Linked DNA regions of Homo sapiens: regions 2, 3 and 4 are each linked to region 1. The links are contacts of gene promoters, found by promoter capture Hi-C in human tissues and cell types (Jung and others, 2019). All regions are on one chromosome and are shown on one strand. The core of a region is centred on a gene start or on the middle of the fragment in contact, and the rest is flanking DNA. Distances in the headings are between cores, read along the strand shown.

The links. Contacts are between HindIII fragments. The study calls those that stand out against the background at their distance.
Region 2: a fragment that was not itself captured here is called in contact with the fragment with the promoter of PDF in region 1 in 1 of the 25 tissues and cell types used here (small bowel).
Region 3: a contact is called between a fragment that was not itself captured here and the fragment with the promoter of PDF in region 1, in 2 of the 25 tissues and cell types used here (dorsolateral prefrontal cortex and lymphoblastoid cells).
Region 4: a contact is called between a fragment that was not itself captured here and the fragment with the promoter of PDF in region 1, in 1 of the 25 tissues and cell types used here (mesenchymal stem cells).

What each region holds. Positions count from the first base shown.
Region 1 is chr16:69,329,298-69,331,883 of GRCh38, forward strand. It overlaps PDF (peptide deformylase, mitochondrial), which reads right to left and starts at 1,291. Exons shown (of 2, transcript NM_022341.2): 1 at 700-1,291. The coding sequence starts at 1,273. It overlaps COG8 (component of oligomeric golgi complex 8), which reads right to left. Exons shown (of 6, transcript NM_032382.5): 5 at 1,516-1,798. The coding sequence ends at 1,542. RefSeq lists enhancers at 657-1,304, 1,953-2,586 and silencers at 929-1,308, 1,339-1,728. The HindIII fragment of the contact is 3,727 bases long and covers 1-1,985 here.
Region 2 is chr16:69,630,733-69,633,318 of GRCh38, forward strand. The region is part of intron 3 of NFAT5 (nuclear factor of activated T cells 5); the gene reads left to right. Among named protein-coding and RNA genes, the nearest start is that of NFAT5, 66 kb to the left of the region's middle. The HindIII fragment of the contact is 7,985 bases long and covers 1-2,586 here.
Region 3 is chr16:69,608,525-69,611,110 of GRCh38, forward strand. The region is part of intron 2 of NFAT5 (nuclear factor of activated T cells 5); the gene reads left to right. Among named protein-coding and RNA genes, the nearest start is that of NFAT5, 44 kb to the left of the region's middle. The HindIII fragment of the contact is 3,452 bases long and covers 1-2,586 here.
Region 4 is chr16:69,590,245-69,592,830 of GRCh38, forward strand. The region is part of intron 2 of NFAT5 (nuclear factor of activated T cells 5); the gene reads left to right. Among named protein-coding and RNA genes, the nearest start is that of NFAT5, 26 kb to the left of the region's middle. The HindIII fragment of the contact is 3,275 bases long and covers 1-2,586 here.

The sequences.
Region 1 (2,586 bases), core at 41-2,540:
AAATGTAGACAGCAGCTCCTCTTCTAACTGGAAAACGTCCCTCATCTCGGTCCATTACCAAGCGTTCAACCTGGTTCCCAACTCTGGTAATTAGGTTATCGAGCTCACTGTAGAGCTGAGATGAGAAATCATCTTTCTACGGTGCGACCCTTCCGAACACTCCTCCCACTTCTGAGGTACCTGTGGGCTCCCAACTCCTAACAGAGGTTCTGCAGCTTGAGACCCCACTTGTTTTTCTGACCATCTTGAACCGACGGGCTTGCTGTGCAGGAACAATCACCCCGACCCCAGCAGAGCCCGCATTCCGCGAGGCATCCTGTGGTACCACGGGGGAATGGCCTAGCCCCCTGGGCTGGGTCAGGCTGGCGGGGGCTAACCCCCACTTCTCCAACTCCACCGTGGCGGATCTAACTGGGGCCGAAGAGCGTGTTTGCCTCAGAGAGCAAGGGAGCAGAAAGCAGACGCCAGGCTGTCAGGTAACAGCGGAACTAGGGGACCTCTCCTCGCCCCTGCGTCCTATCTGAGCGGGCTCTACCCCACAGGAGCTTCTATCCGTCCTGAGGCCTCTCCGCTCCCGCATCCCACTTCGCTCCTGCGGGAGGTCCGGCGTATGAACCGCGACCACTTCTGCGCTCTCGCGGAGTCGGGCAGAAGAGACGCGCGCGCTGCTCCAGCAGCCCCGGTCCCCGCCGCCCGCACCTGAGATCTGCACCGCCTGGAAGCGGGGCACGCAGGCCAGGAAGCCGGCGACGCTCTCGCAGCCCTCGGGAAAGGTGACCAGGCGGCTGTCAAGCACTCGCAGGCTGGGGTTCACGAACACGCGCAGGGGGAAGGGCTCCATTTGGCGGAGCGCGCGCTGGCGGGGCGGGCACTCCCGACACAGCGCCTCGGGGAGCTCCAGCGCCAGCACCTGCCGCGGCACCCCCAGCTGCGGCGCGCTTAGGCCCACGCAGCGCCGCCGCCGCATCACCTGGACCAGCCGTTGCGTCAGCCGCTGCAGCTCGGGCCCGCCTAGCTGCGCCCGCTCCACCGGGGCCGCCACGCCGCGCAGCACCGGGTCCCCGACTTGGCACACGTGCGAGAACGGCGGTTCGGGAGGACCCAGCACCAGACGCCTCAGGTGGCGCCAATAGGAGCGCCGCAGCGCCGGGCCCTCGACGCCGTCCGGGGCGGCCGTGGAGCTGCAAGCCCGGACACCGACGGCTGCCGCCCCGCCCCACGGCACGGCCGCCCACAGTGGCCAAAGACTCAGCGCGCCCCACAGCCGGGCCATGGCGGCCCCCTTAACAGTGACCCGGCCCGCCCCTTCCGGCCGCAGCGCGGGGCACGCCGGGAAGCGCCGTCGGCCAGCACACAGCGAAGCCGCGACTGGATCCCCGCCTTCCTGCTTAGACTGGCAGTGAGCACCGCCCCCTTCCGCTCTCCTCCCGGGAGCGCCTTCCCGCCTCCCGAACCCGCCCCGGACCTTCCAGGGCGAGGCAGTCCTGGCCACCCCGCGCCGGGAACCTCACGCACCGCGTTCTGGAGGCAGGGGACGCCGGCTAGGGCCCCACGCTGGGCGGTTCGGCCTGCGTCTCCGCTCGCCCTCCCTCCGGGCAGGCTGGGCCCGCGGGCTCCAGGCGTGGCTCCTCGGCGGGAGGCTCTGGTGCTGGAGCTGTGAGCTCGGGCCCCAGCGCCTGGTCATCCAGGGTGAAAAGCGTCTCTCTCTTTGGCAGGATAAAGGCGAGGGGCTCCTGAATGGCGCCGATGTTCACATGCCCTAGGTTACCGTACTTGGAGAGCTGAGTGGGAGGAATGCCTAACCCAGACGTGGGGAAAGCAAAATGGAAAACAGTTACTAATAAAACTCAATATAGAAATTTAAGGGAGGCCGGGCGCGGTGGCTCACGCCTGTAATCCCAGCACTTTGGGAGGCCGGGGAGGGGGGGGCGGATCACCTGAGGTCAGGAATTCGAGACCAGCCTGACCCACACGGAGAAATCCCATCTCTCTTAAAAATACAACATTAGCCGGGCTTGGTGGCGCAGGCCTGTAATCCCAGCTACTTGGGAAGGCTAAGGCAGGAGAATCGCTTGAACCTAGGAGGTGGAGATTGCAGTTAGCCGAGATCGCGCCATTGCACTCCAGCCTGGGCCACAAGAGCAAAACTCCGTCTCAAAAAAAAAAAAAAAAAAAAAAAAGGAAATTTAAGGGAAAAAAAACGAGCCATTACTATTTTTTTTTTTGAGACAGTCTCGCTCTGTCGCCCAGGCTGGAGTGCAGTGGCGTGATTGCTGCTCACTGCAACCTCTGCCTCCCAGGTTCAAACAGTTCTCATGCCTCAGCCTCCGTGGTAGCTGGGATTACAGGCGCCCGCCACCATGCCAGGCTAATTTTTGTATTTTTAGTAGAGACGGAGTTACTATGTTGGCCAGGCTGGTCTCAAACTCCCAACCTCAGGTGATCCATCCGCCTCGGCCTCCCAAAGTGCTGGGATTACAGGCATGAGCCACTGCGCCCAGCCATCAATTACTATGTTTTAATACAGCAAAAACCACCTTTGTTACAGGGAATGGGAAGCTATACTGTGAAGCAGAACGTAACGGA
Region 2 (2,586 bases), core at 62-2,561, 300 kb after region 1:
ATCCTATAGTATAGTTATACAGAATTAAAACATAGGTATTAGGAGAACTAAATGAGTTATATCAGAATTTGGGGCTTTTGAAAAGATGTATGGCAGGTTTGGGGTTTTTTAAAATAACAGCTTTATTGAGACATAATTCACCTGCTGTATAATCAAATATTTTTAATCTATGTGCTTACAGTTTTAATCATTAAATTTACTTAATTTATTTAAAATAGAAAGTCATGGACTTTAGTCTTCATTTTAAGAAATCAAGTTACTTTCTTGTTCTATTCTACACTTGTTTTGTTTGGCTTCATTTGGGAATATAACATTGTGTTTATTAGTTTATTTCAAAATATATTTTTCTAAGTGGACTGTTTGAAGTTTCTTTAAAATTTTTAATTCAAATTCTTGAACTAAACAATGAATTAAACTAGGCCGGGTACACTGGCTCACGCCTGTAATCCCAGCACTTTGGGAGGCCGAGGTGGGTGGATCATGAGGTCAGGAGTTCAAGACCAGCCTGGCCAAGATGGTGAAACCCCGTCTCTACTAAAAATACAAAAATTAGCTGGGCATGGTGGCAGGCTTCTGTAATCCCAGCTACTTGGGAGGCTGAAGCAGGAGAATTGCTTGAACTCGGGTGGCAGAGGTTGCAGTGAGCCAAGATCACGCCACTGCACTCCAGCCTGGGCGATAGAGTGAGACTCCATCTCAAAGAAACAAAACAAAACAAAACAAAAATGAATTAAACTATAGGTTTTATAATTCAGCCAGAGAATCTTAATAATGCATTAATAATTCTTTTTTTGCATAGCTTCATAATATTCATATTTTGGTTTCAGTAATTATATATTAATACTCTTTTTAGAAGTAACAGTACACTAATACTTCATAGCAATTGTGCTTTTGTTTTTGTTTTTGTTTTTTGAGATGGAGTCTTGCTCTTTTGCCAGGCTGGAGTGCAGTGGCGTGATCTTGGCTCACTGCAACCTCCACCTCCCGGGTTCCAGCGATTCTCCTGCCTCAGCCTCCCGAGTAACTGGGACTACAGGTGTGTGCCACCACACCCGGCTAACTTCATAGCAGTTTTTAACATGTATAAAGATAATACACAGTCATAAAGTGTGTACAGTGGAAATCTTGGTTGAATATCTCCACTTGTTGGACCACTGTCGGTTTTTAAGTTCATAACTTGATGTGAAGTGATCCATATAATAAATTTTTCTTTTGGAAGAGCTTTGATATATAGTGCTTTGAGTTCTATGCCATGTCACTTAATAAATCTCAAGTATGTAACAAGTATTTTCTACAAAATTTCATTGAGTGCTATTTATACTATAAGAGAGGGCACTAGAGATGCAAATTAATGTCCTATAATCAAATAAGTGCTATATTCTAATTCATTTCATATCTCCTAATCACCTGAATTAAAATCACAGAAATTTCTAAACCATCTATAATAATACACTGTACAAAAACTGAGGTGAAGAAAATATGTTACTCCTCCTGTAGGAGACAGCTTTTAAAAAATGAAAATATATTATCACTTTTAAGTTCCTACTATGTGACAAGAATTGTGTTAGGTAATTTGCATGTCATCATATCACAATCCTTCTAGCCATAAAGTATCTCTCTTTTTTCTTTTACCTAGTTCTTACTCCTTGTCATTGTGCTTGAGGGAATTTGGCATTGTGTGCTATCACTTCGATTAGGGAAACGCAAGATCCTTAACTAGGCAATGTATAGAATATTGAGTTGAAAAGCCATACCTCTTCTCTACAAGTGTCAGGATCTTCGAATGGGAATTTGATTTCTATAATAATAATTTAATAAAAGTGATTTCTAGCAACAAAATTTTTTATCCCATTGAATTTATTATAACTTAATTTACTTACGTTAGAAAGTATTTACAGTTATATAATGAGGATTTTCTTGAGTTGACTAAATTTGAGGAAGAAATTTGCCTTTGATTGCTTTCCTGGGTTAACATATTTCAGAATTTTTGCCACCTAATGTAGTATACTCTTCATGAAATTAAACCAGAAACCCACTAACGAGAAAGGTAATTCACCTACAGATGCTGTGAGCTAAAATGTTGTGAGTTGATCTTGGTTATTCTTTATGGCCATTCCCTTTTTTCCAAGAAAACTAGACCATTTCTAGAAGGAAGTCAGATCCTAGTTACAAACATGTTGCAAGCAGATTTAAAAATCTCTACTCCTCCTTCTATCTTATTATACTGAAATTACATAGTAAATTTAAATACATACACTTATACATATGGATGGTATGTATGTATGGATTTATGCTGAAGTCTGCATTATTAGAGAGCAAACTTGGGCCTATAGCCATTAATTCAGAAACAACTGCTAATTGTTTGACAGTTACAAATTGACATTGCCAAAAAGCAAACTTGGCCTATTATTGCTTTGTTCCTTTAATATTTCTCTTTTTATTGTCCTCTTAATAACACTTTTATAAATATTGTGATTTATTCAGTTTCTAATAAATAAGCATATTTTTATATTACTTGAGTCAACAGAACAGCATTTTGAAACTGTTCACAGATTCTCATTCATAAGCTAAATACTTATAGAAAAT
Region 3 (2,586 bases), core at 37-2,536, 280 kb after region 1:
GGCGGGCGGATCACGAGGTCAGGAGATCGAGTCCATCCTGGCTAACACGGTGAAATCCTGTCTCTACTAAAAATAAGTATATTGAAAATTATCTACCACCATGTGAAATAGTAGTTGTCATTTTAGTCAGGCTGTGGTACAGTGCAATGGCACAATTTCTGCTCACTGCAAGCTCTGCCTCCTGGGTTCACGCCATTCTCCTGCCTCAGCCTCCCAAGTAGCTGGGACTACAGGTGCCTGCCACCACGCCCGGCTAATTTTTTGTTATGTAAATATAATTGTTTTTTCCTCTAGGTTGAAGAATTTAGGTAATCTGGCCAGGTGTGGTGGCTCACGCCTGTAATTCCAGCACTTTAGGAGGCCAAGGCGGGCGGATCACGAGGTCAGGAGATCGAGACCATCCTGGCTAACACGGTGAAAACCCGTCTGTACTAAAAATACAAAAAATTAGCCAGGCGTGGTGGCAGGCATCTGTAGTCGCAGCTACTCGGGAGGCTGAGGCAGGAGAATAGTGTGAACCCAGGAGGCAGAGCTTGCAGTGAGCTAAGATCATGCCACTGCACTCCAGCCTGGGCAACAGAGTGAGACTCCGCCTCAAAAAAAAAAAAAGTATTTAGGTAATCTGCAGAAGAAGGTGGTTCAGGTCTTTGGTTGCTGTTCTTTCCTAGACTCTTCAGAAAAAAATGAATTAACTAGCAATGCTTAAAGAGGTAGTAAATACAAGCCAATCCATTTTCATTCCAGCTGCATTTCATGCTTCAGAGTAATGGCTGTTAGCCAGAATCACTTGTGAAGCTTTATACACATATACATTCTGTGATCTTATTCCCTGTAAACCCCTATTCAGTAGTCGGTCTGTGATGAAATCCCAGGCATCTTCATTCAGGTTAAAAAAAATATACATATGTCTACATGAAATTCTGGTATTCCCTGTTGAAAACCAGTCTTAAGTTAGAGGCATTCTGCAGTTGTACGGAAAGTAAGGGAAACAAAGTTAAAATGGAAAAAATTGAATTAAGAGGCAGAAGTAATGAATTTGATCATTTGTTCATTGCCACTCATTGTAGACACTTATTTTTGATCTCTGTAAACATCAGCTTATATCTCAAAGTATGAGGTCTGAATACTTGCTTGTGGGTGATCATCTTTGTGTAGAATAGAAAAGACAAAGTAGGACCAGGTGCAGTAGCTCACACCTGTAATACCGGCACTTCGAGAGGCCAAGGTGGTAGAATTGCTTGAGCCCAGGAATTCAAGACCAGCCTGGACAACATGGTGAGACCCTGTCTCTACTGAAAAAAAAAAAAAAAAAAAAAAGAAAAAAGAAAATATTAGCTGGACATGGTGGCATGAGCCTGTAGGCCCAGCATACTTGGGACATTGAAGTGTGAGGATCACTTGAGCCTGGGAGGTTGAGGCTGCAATGAGCAATGATTGTGCCACCGCACTCCAATCTGGACAACAGAGTGAGACAAGAAGAGAGAGAGAGAGAGAGACAGATAGAGCGAGTGTCTTGTTGAGTTCTTCAGTGTTGGGTCAAAGAAGGGAAAAAAATTGTGCGTATAAATAGAAAAAAAGAAAACTAACTTTTTAAGGCTTTAAAAATAACTGAAAGTGAAGACCCTGAGATATGAAAAGTGATTTTTGTTAATCAGAAAATTGGTGATTTAGGTGATAATGGGGTGGAAGTTGGAAGATAGGACGTGAGGGGACAGGGTATTTGGATTAAATATAACATAGAAAGATAACATTTTTAGTTCAGGTAGTAGGATATTCTGGTAATGACAGAAAGGAAAACAAGATGGGTTTTTTTTGGTTTTTGTTTGTCTAATATTTTTGTTTTTCATCTCTAAGATTATGGTATAAAAACAGGAATTTATGTTTTAGAATTGTTTGGGTAGAATCACTTAAGGTAGATGATTTGCTTATTCATTCATTTGTTTATTTATTAAGCACATTATTGAAATGCCCATTATGTGCCAGGCATAATAATATAGTAAGTAAAATAGATGGCATTCCTAACCTCAGTGTTACTCTAATTGCATAGACAGGAATGCTGGGGAAAGAATTTATCTTTCAGCCAGCTATTCTCCTGCCTGGGACCCAGCTTTAGCTAGTCTTGGCTCTACAAAGGAAGTTGTAACCTAATTGGAACATAATTTCTTCTCCGTAAAAACTGAGGGTTACACCAAATACTTTCACCACTTCTACCTCTAAAATTCTTGCTTTTAATGTGAATTTTAGATTAATTTAGATTAGATTAATCCCTTAAAACTACATTCATTACATTCATACCATTCTTGCATGGCCCTCTATATATTTCTTCTCTCCTACTACCTTTTTTCCCTCATAGCTCTGGTGTCTTGATACAGTTTTGATTGGCTATTTATGTGCTTTCAGTCAACCTCACTGGACTGAAAGCTTTTTGGGAGCAGACTCGGGTTTCTGTGAACATGTGATTTACTGTGTGTGTACCTATGCACACGAAATGAACAAATGGTGACAAAATTAGTTTTTTCTTATTTTTGAAAATGCTGTTGATCTTGTGAATTTAATATTAGACTGTCTTTCAAGATCAACAACAAA
Region 4 (2,586 bases), core at 26-2,525, 260 kb after region 1:
TGAGTATCAGGTGACTAAAAACTCTAGTATTGTAAATAGATTTGTAAATTGACAAATCTTGTTTTAGACAATTTTGCTATGGTATGCAACAAAGTTATTTCCAAATACTTTTAGGTTTGGATATTTAAAGTGCTATTTAAAAAACTGTATTAGTCAAAGTTCAGGATTTTTTGCGTAAATGTGATTTAAAGTATAAGGCAGTTCTAGTTCTTTCTTTGTATTTGTATTGTTAAAATAAGACTCAGTTGAATTTCAGTTTGAAAATACTGGAAAATTGTTATTCATAGCTACTTTGTCTCAGGCTAGATGATTATAAGGAGAAAATTAATTCTAAAGTGGTTTAAACCAAATCATGTTTTAAATTTAGTGTTATATAAATTTCAGGTTGTGTTCTATATCTTTTTTTGGCTTTCCCCTCCCTCAGCCTAACAGTTTAGTTGTTCAGGATAGGGAGATTTGTCCCATGTAATTATTTTTCAGTTTTGCTGAACATATTTTTAAAATGGCTACCTTTCTTGGGTACAGTGTCATGGGATTCCCCGCCCCATCTGGGGTAGAGTGTTGTGGGATTAGAGTGAGATAAGAGACAAAGGAGAATCTTTCAGGTCTTCTAACTCAAATCACTAGAAATTTAGGCACGATCTGGACCTTAATGTGTGAGAGGCTGTATCATTTTATTTCCCAAATTGTATTTTCTTTTTTCTTGAGACTGAGTCTCACTCTGTCGCCCAGGTTGGAGTGCAGTGGCGTAATCTCGGCTCACTGCAACCTTCGTCTCCTGGGTTCAAGCAATTCTCCTGCCTCAGCCTCCCTAGTAGCTGAGATTACAGGTACATGCCACCATGCCTGGCTAATTTTTCTATTTTTAGTAGAGATGGGGTTTTGCCATGTTGACCAGGCTGGTCTCAAACGCCTGACCTCAGGTGATATGCCTGCTTTGGCCTCCCAAAGTGCTGGGATTACAGGCATGAGCCACTGTGCCTGGCCACAAATTGTATTTTCTCTAACTTCTAGTTGGTATGAAAAAAGTATTAAAGAGTCCCCTCCCCACCCCGCCCCAGTTTTCTTACTCCGAGGATGAAGATGAAGTGGAAAGCTTTAGATAGTTGGTTTTTCAGCCTGGCCACCATGGAAAAATTATTTACTGTTTTATGAAACATGCAATTCAGTTAATTTGGAGGAAGCTGTTTAGTAAGGGGAAAAGGACAGGATTTCTAGTTAGGAAACATAATCAAGTATCTGTTTTAAACTTTGCTAGTTTTATTTCTTTTCCTCTTTTTATCCTCATTTCCTTTTTATCTAGCAAGATTATCGTGAAGCTTCTATGAATAATTTTCTACATTATGCTAGTGCCTTTAAACAGTGTTTGAATATGAATCTCTAACTTGCTCTGAATATGTTGAGAAAAAAAGTTGATTTTTCAGGATAAGTAATTCTTTTTGGGTGTTCAAGATATTTTTAACAAAAAATTTTTCAGAAATTGAAAGTTGGCTTGGCACAGTAGCTCACACCTGTAATTTCAGCACTTCATGGGGCCAAGGCAGATGACTTAAGGCCAGGAGTTCAAGACCAGCATGGGCAACATAGCAAGACCCCTTCCTACACAGCCCAGGAGTTTGAGGCTGCAGTGACCTGTGATTGTGCCACTGCATTTCAGCCTGGGTGACAGAATGAGACCCTGTCTTGATTTAAAAAAAAATTACAAAAAGTCTTTCCAAAGCTATAAAAACTTTAAGCTTTATTCTTTCTCTTTTTCCATGATACTTATTGGCTCTTTTAGGTTTAGTGGTAACTCCTACCAATAATTCTTAAAAGGAAAATGATAATTACTTTTTCTTTTTTTTTTTTTTTTTGAGAAGGAATCTCACTCTGTCACCCAGGCTGGAGTGCAGTGGTGTGATCTCGGCTCACTGCAACCTCTGCCTCCTGAGTTCAAGCAATTTTCCTGCCTCAACCTCCCAAGTAGCTGAGATTACGGGCACCCACCACCACGCCTGGATAATTTTTGTATTTTTAGTAGAGACGGGGTTTCACCATGTTGGCCAGGCTGGTCTCGAACTCATGACCTCAAGTGATCCACCCACCTTGGCCTCCCAGAGTGCTGGGATTACAGGCGTGAGCACCATGCTCAATGGTAACTACTTTTTAGGGATGATACATGGTACTTAGTTGTCACTGATTTTTTTTTGTTGTTGTTCAAAAATTATTATAGTATCTAAAATCTTGTGAACATGGGAACAGATTGTGAGGAGAAAAATAAATAAAAGCTTGTGATTATTTCAAATTCTTATGATCTCAAGTCTTGACTAAAATGTGTGCTTTACAGGGATTAAGATTAAAGTGAAGCTGTTTTTTTCCCTCATAATGTTTCTAACTTAAATTTTTAAGGGGCATTAATACTTATGAAATTGATAGTTTTCTCATCTTTTGATTACTCCCCTCAATTCATGCTTCTGAAAAATGCATTCTAGCTAAAAATATAAGAATGCTTATTAATCATAAAATATATTGGTACTTGTTTAGTGTAGAACTAAGGGATTTAGATATATCCTTTAAAGGCAAATAATACATTTGATCATTAAATGG